3 separate regions of the Homo sapiens genome follow, and regions 1 and 3 are each linked to region 2. Evidence: promoter capture Hi-C in 16 types of primary human blood cells and fetal thymus (Javierre and others, 2016). All regions are on one chromosome and are shown on one strand. The core of a region is centred on a gene start or on the middle of the fragment in contact, and the rest is flanking DNA. Distances in the headings are between cores, read along the strand shown.

Region 1 (3,599 bases), core at 473-2,972, 590 kb after region 2:
TTCAATACATATGATGCTGTAATGGGTCATTCCTTTGGGCTTTAGTTTTATCCCAGATATACCTATTGAACACCAAAGAGGCTACTGGGGCTGTTCTACACTTCGGTTGGAGCAAGTGCGAGGATGATGGATCAGTATAACTGCCCTTGCCCCAGAAATTGGAAATAATCATGCCTGATCTAAAACAGGATCAGTGGGTGGAGTTATAGAGAGAACAGCACACCAGCTTCTAACTCTGTACCTCCACTTCCACTTCCTCCCCCCAGTATTTTCTTCAGTCAGATTTAAACATTACTTCTTGTTAAAGTCATGTCTGTTTCTTGTAGAACTTTGCGAAGTGCAGAAAATTATTCAGAAGTAATGTTGAGAAGGAGTGGTGGAGAATGAAACACAATTCTACCTCTCGGAGACAAAACCATATGGAATGTCAAAAAAAAATATTTACAGTGAGGAAACCTGGCAGACACCAATTTAATCAAGTGATAAAGTTAACATCATGGAACAAACTCACATTTTGTAGCTCCAGATATGATGCACTGAAATGGGTATGACATCACTTCTGTGGTATTCCTGCCAAAAGGGAGGAATCTAATTACCTAAATCTAATAACCTAAATCTAATCATGAGGAAATACCAGATGAACAGGTTAAAGAAAAATAAAATTGGAGGCCACAGTTTGGATATTTCCCTAGGCCAACAACCCACAGCCATGTGTAGTCAAAACCTAAACTATCCTGATTTCCCTGAAAATGCTAGCCCTAACCATAACACACTTTTTCTTCCTTGTCAGCGTAATAACATTAAGCCAATACAAACAAGCTTATGCAGCTTTATTTGCACAACAGAGATCAACGTACTTCCTCATTTAGGAAGCTGCACAGAGGTCTCTAGTTTGGGAACTGTTATTTTGTATGCTCAATAATCTTTTTGAGAATTTAAATTTAATCTGATTTTATTTTTGGCAAACCCAAATTCAAGGATATTGTACAAAACAACTGGCCTGTATTCATAAAAAATATCAGCATCATCAGCATCTTTTTAAAAACGGAGGAATCAGGCTGGGTGCAGTGGCTCACACCTGTAATCCCAGCACTTTGGGAGACTGAGGCGGGCGGATCACTTGAGGTCAGGAGTTTGAGACCAGCCTGGCCAACATGGTGAAACCTCCGTTTCTACAAAAAAGAAAGAAAAGAAAACTAGCCAGGCGTGGTGGCATGCGCCTGTAATCCCAGCTACTTGGGAGGCTGAGGCATGAGAATCACTTGAATACAGGAGGCAGAGGTTGCAGTAAGCCAAGATTACACCACTGCACTCCAGCCTGGGTGACAGAGTGAGACTTCATTTCAACAACAACAACAACAACAACAACAAATAATAATAATAATAATAATAATAAAAACAAAACAGAGGAATCAATACAAATTAAGTGACCTAAGAGTCAATGCAATGTGTACTACAGTGTTTTCTTTTTCTTTTTCTTTTTCTTTTTTTTTTTTTGAGATGGAGTTTCGCTCTTGTTGCCCAGGCTGGAGTGCAAAGGCACGATCTCAGCTCACTGCAACCTCCACCTCCTGGGTTCAAGCGATTCTCCTGCCCCAGCCTCCCCAGTAGCTGGGACTACAGGTGCATGCCACCATGCCCAGCTAATTTTTTTTTTATTCTTAGTAGAGATGGGGTTTCACCATGTTGGCCAGGCTGGTCTCAAACTCCTGACCTCAAATGATCCGTCCGCCTCAGCCTCCCAAAGTGCTGGGATTACAGGCGTGAGCCACTGCGCCTGGCCACTACAGTGTTTTCTTTTGGAACAATTGTTGAAAGTCAAAGTAGGTCTGTAGAATAAATAATAGTATGTATCAGTGTTAACTTCACAATCTTCAAAAATATTCTGTGGGCAAGTGATAAAATCTCCTTGTTTTAGGAAATATGCAGTGACATAGTTAGAGGTAAAAAAAAAGGCATCATGTCTGCAGCCTGCTTTCAAATGGTTCCAAAAGAAAATGTGAGTGTATGCATGTGTGAGTGTGTGTGTGTACACATATATATCTATATCTGCATGAGGAGAGGGAGAGAGAGAAAGATAAAGCAAATGCGATAAAATAGAAACATTTGGGCTGGGCGTGGTGACTCATGCCTGTAATCCCAGCACTTTGGGAGGCTAAGGTGGGTGGATCACCTGAGGTCAGGAGTTTGAGATCAGCCTGGCCGACACGGTGAAACTCCGTCTCTACTAAAAATACAAAAATTAGCCTGGTATGGTGGAGCGCCTGCAATCCCAGCTACTCAGGAGGCTGAGGCAGTAGAATCGCTTGAACCTGGGAGGCTGAGGTTGCAGTGAGCTGAGATTGCACCCCTGCACTCCAGCCTGGGCGACAGAGCGAGACTCTGTTTCAAAAAAGAAAGAAAGAAAGAAAGAAAGAAAGAAAAGAACAAAGAAACATTTGGGAAATCTAGGTGAAGGGTACTATTCTTGCAGCTTTTCTGTAAGTTTGAAGTTATAGCAAAACAAAACATTTTAAAATTATGTGTTTTTCTATAGTATCAGCCTAAATAAGGAACAGAGAGAGGCTCTATAAAAGAAAAAGATATTTATTTTGGAATAAGCCATTGCAATGGGAGTAAGCTTTTTAAAGGAAAACATGAGGAGTATTATGTAATTGTTTTGAAATAATTATCCTTGGCTACAAAGATGAATAACATGGGTGATGCCAGTCCAGGGTTCCATAGGCAGTTGCTGGACACATGTTCTTGCAGAAGTATTTTTTGTGTAAGGTTGTGATGGCCTTTGTGCAAGGTTGTAGTTTTGGTAGTCTTTTTTTTTTTTTTTACGGACTCTCTGTTGCTCAGGCTGGAGTGTAATGGCGCGATCTGGGCTCACTGCAACCTCCCCCTCCCAGGTTCAAGTGATTCTCCTGCTTCAACCTCCTGAGTAGCTGGGATTATAGGCACCAGCCACCATGTCCGGCTAATATTTGTATTTTTTAGTAGAGACAGGGTTTCACCATGTTGGCCAGGCTGGTCTTGAACTCCTGACCTCGTGATCCACCTGCCTCAGCCTCCCAAAATGCTGGGATTACAGGCGTGAGCCACTGCACCAGGCCAATTTTGGCAGTCTTTTGTGACACTTTTTGTTATCAGGAATACAAGCCTGAAAACACTCTCTTCATAGCCTTCCCAGCTCTATTTGTAAGAGTTTTTTTTTTTCTTTCTTCTTTTTTACCATTAGTGACTCCTTTTTGATTATGACAACTTTCACAATAGCTAATACAGGCCTAAGGTACGAAACGCAAAAGATGCAAAAGGGTGTACAATAAATATTCACCTCCATCATCTCTGTCCTCAAGCCAACAACTTTTCTTGCCTAGAGGATATTTCTACATATATAAGCATATGGGAATTTTCTTTCTCCTATTTTTACATAAATGATGAAATAATAATCATGGTTTTTTATTTTGCTTTTTTCACTCATCAGTGTGTTTTATGAGTACATATTGCTCTGTCTCATTCTTTTTTAATGACTGCATAGTAATTCATTGTTTTTCTGCATGTACTTTTTTTTATTTTGAGACAGAGTTTTGCTCTTGCTGCCCAGGCTGGGGTGC
Region 2 (3,484 bases), core at 438-2,937:
GCCTCGGTCTCTCAAAGTGCTGGGATTTCAGGTGTGAGCACCGCGCCCAGCCACTCCCAGATTTTTATCTCTAGCTCTAGCCTCTCTCCTCCTTGAGTTCCAGCCCTCTACATCCAACTGCCTCAACACACCGACTTCATAACTAACATGCATCTAAAATTTAATACATCTAAAATAGAATTCGTTTTTCCCACCTCAAATTTCTCTCTTCCATTCTTCATCTCAGTAAACAGCACCACCACCTACTCAGTTGCTCAAAACAAAAATCAAAAAAGCAAAGATTCCCACCATTCCCTCACCAATCCAAGTCTTGTTCATTCTACCTTAAAACATTTAAAAATCTGTTTATACTTCCCCATCTCCCTGCCACGGGCCTAGTCCAAGCTACTGCAAAGAGCACAGTAACTGACCTCGTAGGTTCCTCCCCAGCCCTCTTCCTCTACATAGCAGTCGGATCATGCTACTCGCCTTCTCAAAACCTTCAAAGGCTTCCCGGGAAAAACTAAACTCCTTATCAGGGCATCATCTGCCCTATCTTTTAAAGAGTATACACAAACAGGAATATACATCCAAGGGTAGTATCTCTAGATCGTAAAACTGCGGGCATTTTTCTCTGGCTTTGCTTGTATTTTTAAATTTTTCTACGCTGAATACCCTCTACTCATTAAGAAAGGGGAAATGATATTGCTGAATTCTATATAATATTATACCGCATTTTTTACATGTGAGCGAGAAAAGGGAATGGAAAACGTGGGTCAACTCTGTAACTGCTGAATGCTTAGATGAAAATACTAGCCAACATCAAACTAAAAAAAAATGATGTGTCAGGCCTGTAAGATTGCTGATGGCATTTCTCTTCCTCTGGTTTCTATTTCTTAACATAATCACATTCATGATGGAGAAAACCTCATTGTCTTCTGCAGTCTGGCCACAGCCCTTCAAGCCAGCCTTTCCTGCAGGAGTCCTCACTTTCCGAGGCTTCCACTCCGCCCCGCACTGCCCGCAGCTCCGGCGCGTTGGCCCCGGCCCCATCCCTGGACCCCCAAAGCCTCTCTGACCCCTCCCCTCCATCCCAGGGAGGCCCGGTGGGGATGGCGACAGGTTGGAGGGGCATTCCAGGATCCTTTCGGTAAACCCACGACTTTCTGGTGCTGGGGCCAAATCTTGCCTCCAAGGCCAAGAGCTTAACATCCTAAAAGCTCCGGCCGCTGTGGCTCGGGGTCCCGTATCCCCTCAGCGCAGCGCCCCGCTGAAGAGGAAGCCCCCAACTCACGTTCCAATTCCAGGCTCCCGCTTCTGCGGCTCCCCGGCCCGCACCTGGGATCCTCCCTGCCCTCCCCTCGGCCCCGGGGCCTCACCGGGTCCCGCTGCCGCGCTGCCTGCCGATGGGGGAGGGGCGCGCACGTGCCCGCGCCGCCCCCGCCCAAACAATGCCCCGGAGAGCGGGGCGCGCTCCCGGCCGGTCCCTTCCTGCGCCCGCCAACACTCACCCTTTCTCCGGGTCTCCGGCTGCAGCGCGGGCCCCGCCGGCCGCCGCGAGAGAGCACGGCGAGGTGAGAGAGCGGGCGAAGCCCCGCGGAGCTGCCCCGCCACAAGGCCCCAGCGACCCCCGCAACCTGCGGAAGCACACGGCGCGGTGGAGCCCGCCCGGCGCGTTCCGCCCCGCACGTCAGCAGCTGGGCGCGTCGGGGCGCGCGCGGCGGCGCGCGCGGCCTCGGGGCGGAGCTCCCAGGGATGAGGGCGGGGCGGGGCGGGGCGGGGCTGGTCCGGGCTGGGACCCCGGCCCGCGAGGGCACTTCCTGGGCAGTGTGGGCGTCGATTCTTGCAAAGGCACAGTCGTCCATCACTTTCCTGCCCCAGAAGATGGCGAATTTCAACCCCAAGTTTGACAGAATATTCATTCTGCCGGCGTGTATGAGCTTCCCTATTAATCACAATAGTGACTATGATGTTTGTGTGTGCCATCTTTGTGCCAACCCATGTGCTAAGTGCTGGGTATACAAAATAACAGTAGTTATTTCTAGCCCATTTTACAGATGAAGAAACTGAGGCAGGGAAGGCTTGAGACTTATCTCAGTCACACTAGCTAGTGACAATCCAAGTCCAGTTTTCCACCTAAATATCACTTGAGGCCAACATTCTCTTTCGTTGTAACTCTACCACCCTACCCAAGACCCTGTAATCTCTCTGCCCAAGACTATGAATAGCCTCCCAACTGGTCTTGGGGAACTTCTGTTCCCCTTCAATCCCTTCTCACTGTATAACGATTTACTACTGGAGCTGAGTGGTGGGTTTAGGAAGTTCACTTTTTTTTTTATACTTTACATACATGTTACCAAATTTTTAATGTATTTAATGTTTTTATCAACGCATAATAAATATAAGTGGTGTTTTGTTTTTTGTGTTTTTTTTTTTTTTTGAGATAGAGTCTCCCTCTGTTGCCAGGCTGGAGTGCAGTGGCATGATCTTGGCTCACTGCAGCCTCCGCCTCCCGGGTTCAAGCGATTCTCCTGCCTCAGCCTCCCAAGTAGCTGGGATTACAAGGCGCGCGCCACCACGCCTGGCTGATTTTTGTATTTTTAGTAGAGACAGGGTTTCACCATGTTGGCCAGGCTGCTCTCGAACTCCTGACCTTAGGTGATCCACCCGCCTCAGCCTCCCAAAGTGCTGGGATTACAGGCGTGAACCACCACCCCCAGGCTAATTTTGGTTTTTTTAGACAGGTCTCACTATCACCACAGCTAGTCTCACACTTCCGGGCTCGAGAGATCCTCCTGGCTGGGCACGGTGGCTCATGCCTGTAATCCCAGCACTTTGGGAGGCTGAGGCGGGCGGATCACCTGAGGTCAGGAGTTCAAGACCAACCTGGCCAACATGGTGAAACCCCGTCTCTACTAAAAATACAAAAATTAGCCAGGTGTATTTGGGCATGCCTGTAATCCTAACTACTTGGGAAGCTGAGGCAGGACAGTCACTTGAACTCGGGAGGTGGAGGTTGCAGTGAGCCATTGCACTCCAACATGGGCAACAAAAGTGAAACTCCATCTCAAAAAAAAAAAAAACTAAGAAAGGCTTCCTTGAACCTTAAGCTAAGACTCAAGAGATAATAGGAACTGGGGAGATAAACAAATTTCATGGAGAAGGGGGTGAGGTCACAGGTCAGGATGAGTGTGTTGGTGTTCCCCTACTCTTAGGGTTTAACAGTGAGGTGGAAAGCATAGAAATACCCAGATAAGTGCCAAGAAAGCTAGAAGCTGACTTCCCTTGGTGTAGCTTGGAAGGCTGTCCAAGTCTGTGAGAAGGCTCACACAGTAGGGCTTGGGAGCAGGCCATGGCGTTGGGAGGAGTCTGCAATAGTGCTGCTGGAGCGCTGCAGCTTGCACATTTAGGTATGTCAGAATTCCAGACTTCTCTTGTTGCTCCCTGCCTGGCATGCAGAAAGTAGCATGGTTAAGAGCCATGGACAGACCAATAGGCACTGTGC
Region 3 (3,791 bases), core at 849-3,348, 550 kb after region 2:
ATGAAAGAAAAATAACAGAAATATAGGCTATAGTTCCCGCTTTCAATCTGTAGGGTTTTGTTTGTTTGTTTGTTTTTGAGACCAGGTTTTGCTCTTGTCGCCCAGGCTGGAGTGCAATGACATGATTTCGGCTCACTGCAAACTCTGCCTCCTGGGTTCAAGTGATTCTCCTGCCTCAGCCTCTCGAGTAGCTGGGATTACAGGTGTGCACCACCACACCCTGCTCATTTTTGTATTTTTTAGTAGAGACGGGGTTTCGCCATGTTGGCCAGGCTGATCTCGAAGTCCTGACCTCAGCTGATCCGCCCAACCTCGGCCTCCCAAAGTGCTGGGATTACAGGTGTGAGCCACTGTGCCCAGCCCAATTTGTAGTTTTTTAAATTGAAATACTACCAATGACAACAACATAAAGAAAAATCAGTCACTTAACCTTGTTGTTCAATCAAGGCAAATTATCCATATCATTCGCTTTGTGACCATGGACAGGCTGCTCATGATCTCTGAGCCTCAGTTCCTCTTCTATAAGATGGAGCCAACGAGTGCTTATTTTGCTGGGCTGCCATGAGAGTGTGCTGAGCTAAAGAATGTAAAAGTGTTCAGCGTGGTATTTGGCCCCTAGAGGGGTCAGGAGAGGTGGATTTCCTTTCTTTTTTTCCCGCAGTTTCATTTTTTAAAGAACTGAAAACCTTTCCCTGTCAGTGTCTCATTTGGTTAGGGTGACATGCTGAAAGTTGTTCAGACCCTTCCAGTTCAAGATCACATGCATCTCTCCCCACACCTCCCTACAACATCCTTCCTGGTGGGATAGTTGCTTTTAAAACATTCTGCAGTAACTTCATTCTGTGCACAGGACTATCCCTTTCTCCTCCACCCCTTTGGCCGGGCAGCTCTAGGTCTCCAGCCCTGGCTCGTGAAATCAACCATCAAGAGAGGAGAGGTGCGAGGGTCAGGCAGTGCACTGGCCGACTGAGGTCCTGGAATCAATGCTGCAGACCCACCTGTTGTTTCCCCAGAGCTTTTTTTGTTTTTTGAGAAAGGGCCTCCCTCTGTCACCCAGGCTGAAGTGTGGTAGCACGATCAGGCTCACTGCAGCCTCAGCCTCCTGGACTCAAGTGATCCTCCACCTCTCAGTCTCCTGAGTAGCTGGGACTACAGGTACATGCCACCATGCCCAGCTAATTTGTGTATTTTTTTCTAGAGACAGGTTTTCATTATGTTGCTCAAACTGGTCTCCAGAGCCTTTGAGGGGCATTTGGAACCCTCTTGGCCTACGAGCTGGGCTTCTGAGGACTGTGACCAGTGTTCAAGTGTTGACACCCTCACAGTGCACACTTAGAACTCCCCAAGTGATCTGTACTTTCCATGCTCTTTTTCCCCTGGTACTTTTCCCTCTGCCTAGAAGGCCCCTCCCACCCCTCAGCTCCTTTAGCATCCATCCTTAAAATAACTCAAATATCATCACCCTGTGAAATTCCCCCTTCCCCACTTCCACTTCAGGTAAAATGAGAGACTTCCTCCTCTTAGTTCCCTGAAACTCTATTCATTGTTCCCCAAACTTCATCAATGCACTTGTCACACATTTTGCCATCCCCAAGGCAAAGTCTATGGCTCCTTCACGTCTCTTCTCTAGTGCTCACCCCGACTTCGCATATAGTATATCTTTAGCAATGTTTGATAAACAAATGTATCAATGAAGGAGAAAATCTAAATTTTGCAGAGAACTCTGGGTCAAAGTGCCAAAAAGTAGATCACAGGTTCCTTTTGCTATGTCCAGAACAAAGCTTTCTTGATTTAGTCACAACAATGCTGAGCGAAAAGGACATGATTGATGCTGAAGACAAAATCCACATCCTGAACAGCTGGGACTATGAAACTTCCACGGTGTGTTTTGCAGAAGTGGACAGGGGGACCTTAGGACCCCATGGTTATTGGCATGCTGGCGTCCTGGGCAGGATGAATTGGGCTGGTTGGTGCCAGACCCCCGTATGTCTGCAGAAAGGTAGACATGTTGGTGGACCCACAGTTTTGCTAAGGAGGATGTTAAGGTTCCTTGACGGATTAACAAAGGACCACAGAGCCTAAAATATTTCTGGAAAAAAGTTTACCAAAGACGATTTTATTTCCTTTAAGAATATTCAGTAACACTACAATTCTACAGAATAAAGTGGTACAATTGTCTAAGCCTCATTCCATAGCATAAATTGTGTAAAACTTGGAATCTTTTTTTTTCTTGGAAAGAGACACTTAATAGGGATGTATGAACAGAAGCCATGTCTGTCTTGAATGGTGATGAGACAAGATGGTATATCCCCACGCCATTAACCCTGAGACCCAGGGCTTAAATACCATATGGAAAGGGTGAGTCAGAAGAGATGTGTAGGACAATTGAAGTATGATCATGTCAAGTCAAGCTTGTAATCTTAAGAAAACTAAATATCCCCCTGTCCTTTTGTTTACATGAATCCACCTAACAGATACTTTTCCTTTACTCTAAAGATAGACATCATGGCTAGACATAGTAGCTTATACCTCAAGCCTCATTCCTTGTCAACCCAACACCTTGAGAGGTCAAGTAGGGAAGATCTCTTGAGGTCAGGAGTTCAAGACTAGCCTGGGCACCATAGTGAGATCCCATCTCTATAAAAAAATTTTTTTTAAATTAGCTGGCTGTGGTGCCACGTGCTTGTAGTCCCAGCTACTTGGGAGGCTCAGGCAGGAGGATCACTTGAGCCCAGCAGGTTGAGGCTGCAGTGAGCCAAGATCTTGCCACTGCACACCAGCCTGGGCGACAGAGGGAGACCCCAACTCAAAAAAAAAGCTAGACATCAGCTTAGTCCTAGTCAATGTTTCACTAATTTTGACTCAGTCAAAATGGAAAGAATTCTGAGTACAGCTTCCAGACTCTGTCCTGTGTGTCCTTAAGATGAACTCAGAGTGAATGTGAGCACCCTGCTTACGGAAGGCCTCATTTTTTGATTAGCCCTAGAAAGCGCAGATTCTTGTGGAACAGCAGTGGCCCTGCCCATCAGGGACGGGTTCACAGGTGTTCTGCCTGTGCATCCGGAAGGGCTCAGACTTGTTTTCATGCTTTGCTGTTGCCCCATGAAATTCTTGATTTTTGAACACATGGCCCGGCACTTTCATTTTTTACTAAGCCCCAAAAATTCATTATGTAGCCAGTCCTGCTTCCCATCAATGGTTATAGGTTTCAGCTGCATTTCAGGGAATGTGAAAGTAAATTCTCACATAATGAATTTTTGTTCTATACCCACACATCCCATGGAGGAAAATGTAGGGCAGGATCTTGCTTTGTCTCACCTACAAACTACATGCATCTGCGGTAGATGCTTAACTCTTCTGAGCCTCTTTGTTCTCAGCTGTAAAATGGTCTGTTAATATCGATTCTGTCTCGGGGTCGTTGTAAGGATCAAGTGAGGCAATGTCAGTGAAAGCATGCACGTGGCGAATTCTGAAACTCTCACAGAAATGCCAAGCATTCTTCCTTTAGGAGGGACAGGTCAGGGAGACACCAAAGGGAAGATTCCAAGAGGCCTCTGAGGAGTCTTTGCTGACCTCATCACTATTCTGCTGCTCCTCAAATCAATCTCACAGTGCAGCCCGAGCCATTTACAAAAACAAAGCTATGCTCATGTCACTGCCCTGCTTAAAACCCTTCGATGGACGCTCTTTGCCCTTAGGGATGGGGCGGGGGCCTTGTAACCCGGACTGTGGACCCTGAAATATAAGTCTCTCTTATATTAAAAGAGGCTCCAAATTTTAAAAATGCCCCA

Evidence for each region. Contacts are between HindIII fragments. The CHiCAGO score rates a contact against its expected background, and 5 or more counts as called.
Region 1: a fragment that was not itself captured here is called in contact with the fragment with the promoter of YEATS2 in region 2 in 1 of 17 cell types (naive CD8 T cells); the score reaches 5.1 in naive CD8 T cells.
Region 3: a fragment that was not itself captured here is called in contact with the fragment with the promoter of YEATS2 in region 2 in 1 of 17 cell types (erythroblasts); the score reaches 5.4 in erythroblasts.

What each region holds. Positions count from the first base shown.
Region 1 is chr3:183,105,307-183,108,905 of GRCh38, reverse strand. LOC105374247 (a long non-coding RNA gene) reads right to left here and starts at 681. Exons shown (of 3, transcript XR_924772.3): 1 at 512-681. It also overlaps a transcript of MCCC1 not described here. The HindIII fragment of the contact is 1,801 bases long and covers 822-2,622 here.
Region 2 is chr3:183,696,000-183,699,483 of GRCh38, reverse strand. It overlaps YEATS2 (YEATS domain containing 2), which reads right to left and starts at 1,687. Exons shown (of 31, transcript NM_018023.5): 1 at 1,491-1,687. RefSeq lists a silencer at 1,313-1,782. The HindIII fragment of the contact is 10,471 bases long and covers 1-3,484 here.
Region 3 is chr3:183,142,144-183,145,934 of GRCh38, reverse strand. The region is part of intron 3 of LAMP3 (lysosomal associated membrane protein 3); the gene reads left to right. Among named protein-coding and RNA genes, the nearest start is that of LAMP3, 19 kb to the left of the region's middle. The HindIII fragment of the contact is 630 bases long and covers 1,784-2,413 here.